Regions from separate parts of the Homo sapiens genome. Here region 2 is linked to region 1. The links are contacts of gene promoters, found by promoter capture Hi-C in blood cells and fetal thymus (Javierre and others, 2016). All regions are on one chromosome and are shown on one strand. Each heading gives the region's core, a stretch centred on a gene start or on the middle of the fragment in contact. The rest is flanking DNA. Distances are from core to core; before and after follow the strand shown.

Region 1 (4,283 bases), core at 605-3,104:
TTTCTTTTAAGTATATACCTAGGAGAGGAATTGCTGGGTCATATGGTCACTCTACATAGAACTTTTTGAGGACTTGCCAAATTGTTTTCCAAAGTGGCTGCGCCATTTTACATGCCCATCAGCAATATATTGTGAACCCTGAAAATTTGAGACAGGTCTCAATTAATTTAGAAAGTTTATTTTGCCAAGGTTGAGGGCATGCCCATGACAGGCCTCAGGAAGTCCTGAGGACATGTACCCAAGGTGATCAAGGCACAGCTTGGTTTTATACATGTTAGGGAGACATGAGACATCAATGAATGTATGTAAGCAGTACATTGGTTTGGTCTGGAGAGGCAGGACAACTTGAAGCAAAGGCAGGAAGACTACTGCAAAGGCAGGAGGCAGGAGGGAGCTTCCAGGTCACAGATAGGTGATAGACAAACGGTTACACTCTTTGGGTTTCTGATTAGTCTTTATAAAGGAGGCAAATCTGTCTCGGTGAAATGCATCTGTCTCAGTGAGCAGAGGGGTGACTTTGAATGGAATGGGAGGCTGGTTGGCTCTAAGCAACTTCCAGCTTTAGTTTTCCTTAGTGATTTTGGGGGCCCAAGATTTCCCTTTCACAGTATGACGGTTCCAATTTCTTCACATCCTCATATCATATTCTATTTTATGAGTTATCTCTAGATGGGTATTATTATTCCTCTTGGGTTTAGCTCCCTGAGGACACAAACTGTCCTAAGACTATGATAATAGTAATCATAGAACCGTGCACATGGCAAGTTCTGAATAAATCTCAGCTGTTGGATATACTTTTTGTTATAATTACTAACACTTCCTAACTAGAGAGTAAGCCTACTCTAAGAAAAAATATAACTGTAATTTCACAACCTCCAAAGAACCCAGTGCATAAACAGCTACCATTTATTAAGCACTGACTGAATTCTTAGTAATATGTCTTCATTTTTTTCAGATGAGGAAACTAAGATTCAGCTTATTTGTACAAGTAGTTAAAAAGCAAAGCTGAAATTCAGACCCAAGTTCTCACTGTATCATACTGTCCAAAAAAGAATTCTATTTTTCAGGAAGAGACATGTCTGCTCACTTGAGGTCCTCTTATTTTTCCGCTATTCCCCAAAGGAAAGGGGTGATCTCTTAATTCTTTCGTTATGTCCTATTGTACATAGCATATAATGGTAATTCAGAAAAATTACTTCTAATTACATAAATTTTCACAATGGTATAGTGACTAATACGCTGAAATAGAAAAGTAAGGCATTGTTATCATGGTCTAGTTCAGTCTTTATTGCGACTATATCTGATAATATACGGTAAGCATCTAACCACTTGCCAGGGGCCACAGAGCCACAGGGAGACTATGTCTCGCTTAAATTCCCAAAAGTGGGCCCCTGTGCTTCAAAACGTCCCCGCATGGGAACCACAAAAACGTTGCCTCCCCAGTTATCACCCCAAGGGCCCAAGAGCCGAGGACTCTGCCCGGCGTCCTTCAGCTGGCACCAGCTGTCAGAAAAGCGGAACTGGGGACGAGGACTTTGCCCCTAACCAACATGGCCGCCCTGAGGCTTCGGGCTTCGGGCGGCAGAAGGAAGGTCACGTGAAGAGAATTCCGTTCCTTTATTGGCCCCGTCTCCTGGAAGGGCGGGGTACAATAACCCAACCGGCGCCGGCCTTAAAGGGGCCACCGTTGGATCTGCCGGTGGCCGGCCCTAGGGGCTGGGGGGGCGGTCGCCGCGCCGGGCTTCTGCCCCTCCCGCGCGGAACGGTGACGGGCGGGGCTGGCGCTGGGAGGCCGTGTCGCTGGGAGACTGCTGACAGCCCGCCGCCTGCCGCCGCGCGATTCCGAGGGGGTTAACGGCGGAGCCGCCGGCCGGGCGCGGACCGGAGCGCGTGAGGCTCCGGCGCGCAAGCCCGGAGCAGCCCGCTGGGGCGCACAGGGTCGCGCGGGCGCGGGGATGGAGGACGGCGTGGCCGGTCCCCAGCTCGGGGCCGCGGCGGAGGCGGCGGAGGCGGCCGAGGCGCGAGCGCGGCCCGGGGTGACGCTGCGGCCCTTCGCGCCCCTCTCGGGGGCGGCCGAGGCGGACGAGGGCGGCGGCGACTGGAGCTTCATTGACTGCGAGATGGAGGAGGTGGACCTGCAGGACCTGCCCAGCGCCACCATCGCCTGTCACCTGGACCCGCGCGTGTTCGTGGACGGCCTGTGCCGGGTGAGGACCGCGCCGGGCGGGCCGTCGGGGCGGAGGGCGGACACTTGTTGCCCGAGGAGGCGGCGCGGGTCGCAGCGCCCAGTCCCGGCCGCGCGCGGGGCGGGGAGGCAGCGACGTCCCCCGGGCTGCTCGGCCGCGGACCCGTCAGGGCTGGGGCGTGGGGACGGCGCCCCGAGGGTCCCGGTCCCCTAGCACCCCCGGGGCGCGCGGAGCTCACTGCAGAGTCCCACAGGCTCGCCCCGGCCCCCGTGTGCGCCCAGGCTGGTGCGACTAGGGGGGTGAATTCGCTCCCCAAGGTGGGGCAGCGCCGCCGCCCCCTGCGCTCTCGCCATCGCCCCGCATTTACTCGCTGGAGGAGGGGGTCACCTCATTCCTAGGGAGGAGGAAACAGACATTGAGCGGCGACGTGACTCAGTGTTCATAAATAGGACGACGTCCCTGCATTCCCAATCTGCACTATTGGAAGAAAAGCCAATGTTTGGGTGAGGATCCGTGGTTGCTCATTAGCCAGCGGCTGGCCAGTTTTGGTGGAATTGTGTTGGGGGGAAGGGGACCATCTTTCAGACCTTTAGGATATTTAGTCAAGAACCTTGCCCCCTTGTGTGAAGGTGTGGCTTGCCGCCATCGGGGACACCCAGTACATGGGGAGTCGACTCCTTCCCCCGCCTCCCCCCACCCCCGCAAAATCCACACAATTTAGACACTTTGGAGGGTGAGGGGCAGGTATGAGTAATCAATAATGGTGGTGGGGAGGAAGAATTTATTTCAAATCTGCAGTTATTGTGCAGAATAAAATGTGGACAACGTGGGCGTCACAGAATGAAACCGGTCTTTGAGAGATGCCCCATTAGGAGAGCAGCTGTCAAAAAAAGCAGTGCTTTCAGCGCTTGGCTGTGGGTCCACAAATGCTGTCAATGAACTATAGTTGAAGGCTGCTGCCAATACAACACCACTGTGAAACAGAATGGTGTATGTAAGTGTCATTTATTTATAATTTATATGTTCACTTACTTTCTGAAAGGAATTACAATGGCCGTGTGCTTAGGTAAGCTTCCAGGCATGCTTTCTAGAGCAGCAATTGTCAGGAACTCAGGGTCTTACTGATTGATCTTACTCTAAAACCTTTTCCTCTCCATATAAACTAAGCGCTAGCCAGCATTTCAGACCTTTTCCTTAGGAGTTCTAGGCTGTCTTTCTGCTAGAACAAGGTCAAGTCACGTAAGACGGCACTTACTTGTAGTGTTGGAGACAATTTTTTCCAGTGTTGGATACAATCCTGAAATTGTGTTGTATGAAAGTTTGCCCACTTCGCTAGCTATTCATTTTAACAAATATTTATTGAGACTTCGCTACGGGATAGGTACTGTCCTAGGCTCTGAGGCTGCATCAGTAAATAAAATAGCATTTCTGCCTCCAGGGTTGACATTTTTTGGAAGGGAAACAAGCAATAAAGAAATATCAAATGTATCAGAAAGTAATGATGCTATAGGAAAAAATAAGACTTGGAGGGCAGGAGGAGGGAGTGGAGATCTGGGAGTGGAGGGGAGATTGCTATTTTCCATAAGATGATCAGGGAAGGTCTTACTGATATGGTGATATTTTGAGCAGAGACAATGTAGCATTGGTTCATTCAGGCTTTGCTGTCTATTGAGTGCTTACTGTGTTCCAGCCACTGGTTTAGGCCCAGAGGATAAAGCAGGGAACATTTCAAGCTCCTTGCTTTCATGGAGCTTAGGATCCAGTGGTTGAGGGGGAGATAGACAATAGGAAAAAGGCAAGTGAACAAGATCATTTCGGATAGTGATAAATGCGATGAAGAGACTGAAACAGGGATAGAGAGCAAGGGGAGGGGGCTTGGTCAGAGTGGTCAGGTCCTAACACTGTGGGGGTTTTGTTGAAGAGCTGGTGAATTGGGGCAGTCCTGAGGGAACTAACAAGGGATGTCCAGGCCTGCAGCCATGAGCAACAGCTGGAAGCTGGAGCTGGGGGAGGAAGTCACGTGGCTGGAAACCTAGGGGAGGAGCTGCCTGCCAGGAGCTGTAGACTTGAAGGTGTGGAGTTGAGATGCTAAGGCAG
Region 2 (4,283 bases), core at 717-3,216, 1.5 Mb before region 1:
CTGTGAGAGATTGAAGAGTTCAGTAAAACCGACAGTTATACAGGCTATAAATAACTAGACACAGAAAGAAGTAATCACACAAGAAGTGTATCTGCTCAGATACCTTAAAATCGAAAATGTCAGCAAGAAATCTCTCTCTTTACCCATTTTTAATTTCATAGAAAATCAAATTCAGGGTTGGGCACTGTGGCTCATACCTGTAATCCCAGCACTTTAAGAGGCCGAGGTGGAAGGATTGCTTGAGCCCAGGAGTTTGAGACCAGACTGGGCAACATAATGAGACCTTCGTCTCAAAATAATAATAATAATAATAATTTAGAAAAAGAAAAAAACAAGTTCAAGAGAAAAACCAACTGCCAGATCCCAAAAAAGTTCACTGTAAATATGTCTATATGAAGGAACATTTCTCAGTTCGATGAAAATGAGGACAGTGACCCTACCACATAAGCAAAAACATTTAGCAACAGATAACAGATATGTACTATTAGTAATAAAATTGATAATGATCCTTAGTCCACAGCACAGAAACACTCATCACCAATGGGCTTAATCAACTCTGGGACACACTGTTTTGAATGTGGTCTTTCAAAGTGGCAATTAAATTGTACTGGAAAAAATTTAAGCCACCTAATGGCAGCAGACTTGTGGGGCCGGGGGGACGGTCTTCCCTCGCCTTACCAAAAAAATCCTAGCAAAGTCTTCCCAATTGTGGGGCTGCAGTCGCGAGTGTAAGGCAACACTGCGGGTAACAGTCCCCGCGAGCAGCCGGGAACCCTGCAGGGCGCAGGGGCCAGGCTGGCAGAGCGCGCACTGCGGCCCGGATCCCTTCTCCTGGGGACTGGCTGGAAGACTGGGGTCTTCCCCAACGAGGAAAGCCCTTAGTTCTCACAGGTCTGCGTCCCCAGCCTCCTCCCCAGCCAGGGCACCAGCAAACAAAGGCTGAGCGTCTCTTCGTGGGCCGGCCCCGGGAGGGCGCGCGGGCCGCGACCCACCCCTGGACCTGCACCTGCCGCCCCGCTCGGCGAGGGCGTGGCCGGCATCATATCCTCCGCGCCAGGGTCGGGTAACCCTAGGGGACCCCACCCAGTCTCCCCGCTGCCCTCCCGGTCTCCGGCCCCGAGCTCTCCGCCCCCGCACTGCAGCAGAGCGCGCCGCAGGCCCGGGCCGCGCGCCGGTAAGCCACCTGCACCCCGGGCCGCCCCACGGCGCCGCCCAAGCCCTCTGGACCCGGAGAAGGACCCGCGGGCCGGCGGGGAGGAGATGCCCGGCTCCTCCGGCTTCGCCCAGCGGCTGAGGACTGGACGCCGGACAGGGCGCAGGCACGACTTACCGCGGCAGTGGCCCTGTTGGCGGGCGCGCTCACGTGCGGCGCGGAGGAGCCCTCCGGGCTGGGGGAGAGAGACTGGGCAGGGCTGCGGCGCGGCCGGGAGCCAGAACCGCCGAGGAAGAGCCGGAGAACCAGCGGCAGCGGCTCTTCCCCACCGCGCGGGTCGGGGCGGAGCCTGGAAGCCGGGCCTCGGCGCTTGGGGCGGGGCTGGAAGGCGGGGCTGGACGCCTGGAGGCGGGCTCAGGGGCGGGACCTGGAGGTGGGCCATAGGCGCGCGGGGGCGGGGTTTCCGCGGGCGGGGCGGAACTAGAAGACGGGGCCTGACCGAAGGAGGCGGGATCAAGGGCGGGGCCTGGAAGTGGGCTGTCCCTACAGGGGCGGGGCCTCGGCTGGCCGGGCTAGGCTGGAAGGCGGGGCCTGACTCATGAAGGTGGGATCAAGGGCGGTGCCTGGAGGCGGGCCATAACAACAGGGGCGGGGCCTCGACGGGCTGGGCTGGACTGAAAGGCCAGGCTTGACTCACGGAGTCGGGGTCAGGGGCGGGGCCTGGAGGTGGGCCTTAGACGCGGGGGCGGGGCTTCGGCTTGGGAGCAGGGCTTGGGGAGGGCCCCGGCGTACTGGGGCGGTTCAGTCGCCTCAGCCGCGGTGTGAGGGAGCGGGAGTCTTCCTTAGCTTCTCCGCCATGGGTGTCGCTTCGTAGCCGGGCTGCTCCGGGAAAGGCCTCGTACAGGTGAGCGGGGCGGCGTTCGCGCCTCACCTGGGGACCCCCGACACAACCGAGTGGAAGGGGACATTGGTCAGTGCCCGCCCAAGGTCGTCCGCGCGTGTGTCGGCCCTCGGAGGTGCTTTGGAGTCACTCACAGAAACGGAGAAGCGGGGGCTCCTCGAAGGGTGCGCGGCACCTGGTTCACCCCATCTTTTCCCTCTGGACCACGTCCAAGCCCTCCACACACGTTTGGGGCGCAGGGGGCGCGGCGGGCTTGGGACCCCTGCTAAGTTGCCCCAGCCCGCACGGGCCTCAGGTTTCCGACCCTGGGCGACAGGAGAGGTGAGATCATTTCTACCTGGACAGAGCTTATCACGTGGACTGTGGCTCAGGAAGGAGACCTTGACGTCAACCTTAGAAAGCATTCATATCTCCAGACAATCACCAGCCCCTGCCTGCCATCCTCTCGAGCGCTGGGACCTAGACGGTCCAGTCCGACCGCTTCAGGGTAGGACGCACCTGGAGGGTGCGCGGTAGGCAGTGCTCACCTGAGCACAGGCCCTGTCCCCACCCAGCTGTGGCTCCAGCCAACCCGAAGTGGGCCACTTGTGGATGAAGGCTGTCATTTCTGCAGTGGCCTCGCTCCTTTTAACTCCCGAGCGTCCTTTAGAAATGTTCAGACCAGGTCTGGAGTTCGTGAAGGCGAGGCAGTGGTCAATGAGCTTGGGAGGTGGGGGAGGTCATGAGCACCTGGAAGTTGTTTAGAACACTTTGTGTATATGCATGTTTCTAGGGGAGGGGTATATTATCAGCTTCCAAAGTGGATCTATCACTTCCCTGGAAACACTAAGAATATTTTAATAGCTTGGGATGCTGGACCTGTGGCCCAGCCAGGCTGCTGATTCTGATTTTGTCTCCATTTGGCATATACCAAGTGCCCCAGATGTAAATCCTCTCATGGTCAATTTGAGGAATGGTCTTAAGATAGAAGCAGAGAGAAACGAAAAGATTGAGCCATAGTTAGCAGGAAAAAAAATTAATTTCATGAAAATTGATTTCCTAATGAGAATATGATAAACTGGTTTTACAAAAGCAGCAAACAAAACCAGCAAAAACCAAAAAACAACAAAAAAAAAACAAGAAGATGGCAAGCAGGTGAGTTTTTTTTTTTTTTAGGTTCTTCAAATCCTAGTCACACTCAACACTGCACTGAACAGAGATGAAAGAACTGCTTTACACTTAACATTGAAAAAAGAAGTAGTCTGTTTGTGCCAAAGCCACCATGCACATACAATCTGTGCCTTGTATTCATATACCACCTATCTGTAAAGGATTCCAGGTGTGTGTGCGTGTGGGGGGGTTTAATTTAATTTTGACAAATTCATTTGTAAATCATAATTTAAAAAACTCAATTTATAATTGACAGTATACTGTCAATTACTGTATACTGTATACAATATACTGATACTGACAGGATTGACAGTAAATGTACAACATTGAGATTTGAGTATTCTGGCCGAGCGCAGTGGCTCACGCCTGTAATCCCAGCACTTTGGGAGGCCGAGGCAGGTGGATCACCTGAGGTCAGGAGTTCGAGACCAGCCCGACCAATATAGTGAAACCCTGTCTCTACTAAAAATACAAAAATTAGCTGGGTGTAGTGGTGTGCACCTGTAGTCCCAGCTACTGGGGAGGCTGAGACAGGAGGATTGCTTGAACCTGGGAGACAGAGGTTGCAGTGAGCCTTGATCACACCACTGCACTCCAGCCTGAGTGACAGAGTGAGACTCCATCTCAAAAAAAAAAAAAAAATTGCATATTCTGACAAGAAATATGTTTTCTTGGATCAAGTTGTCTTGTCACAACTTAAAAGTCTACTTAGCTACTTTCATCAGTTTAAGACATGCAGAAACGGTCAGGGTCCTTTCATAATAATACTCAAACCAAGTAAAGCATTTCAACTTTAATTTAAACCGGAACTTTAATCCTTACCCCTCTTGACAGTAAAGAAGGCATTATAAATCAGAACCCACTGCATTATCTGGCTCAGGCTGATCACCCAGTAGAGAGATTGGCCAAGTAAATTCATTCTTAGTTTTGATATGCAGATATTGGTGACCCTCTAAGCCAGTGTCTTCTTTTTTCTTTCTTTTTTTTTTTTTTTGAGATGGAGTCTAGCTCTGTTGCCCAGGCTGGAGTGCAGTGGTGTGATCTTGGCTCACTACAACCTCCGCCTCCCAGGTTCAAGCG

The links. The method cuts DNA at HindIII sites, captures the fragments that hold promoters and counts their contacts. A CHiCAGO score of 5 or more calls a contact.
Region 2: a contact is called between the fragment with the promoter of CBR3-AS1 here and the fragment with the promoter of RCAN1 in region 1, in 1 of 17 cell types (neutrophils). The highest score is 8.8, in neutrophils.

What each region holds. Positions count from the first base shown.
Region 1 is chr21:34,612,684-34,616,966 of GRCh38, reverse strand. It overlaps RCAN1 (regulator of calcineurin 1), which reads left to right and starts at 1,854. Exons shown (of 4, transcript NM_004414.7): 1 at 1,854-2,207. The coding sequence starts at 1,956. RefSeq lists silencers at 1,620-2,049, 2,240-2,339. The HindIII fragment of the contact is 8,899 bases long and covers 1-3,259 here.
Region 2 is chr21:36,153,991-36,158,273 of GRCh38, reverse strand. It overlaps CBR3-AS1 (CBR3 antisense RNA 1), which reads left to right and starts at 1,966. Exons shown (of 3, transcript NR_038893.1): 1 at 1,966-2,057. It overlaps DOP1B (DOP1 leucine zipper like protein B), which reads right to left and starts at 1,450. Exons shown (of 37, transcript NM_001320714.2): 1 at 1,331-1,450. RefSeq lists silencers at 956-1,255, 1,286-1,835 and enhancers at 2,016-2,075, 2,156-2,205, 1,590-2,256, 2,257-2,924. The HindIII fragment of the contact is 13,180 bases long and covers 1-4,283 here.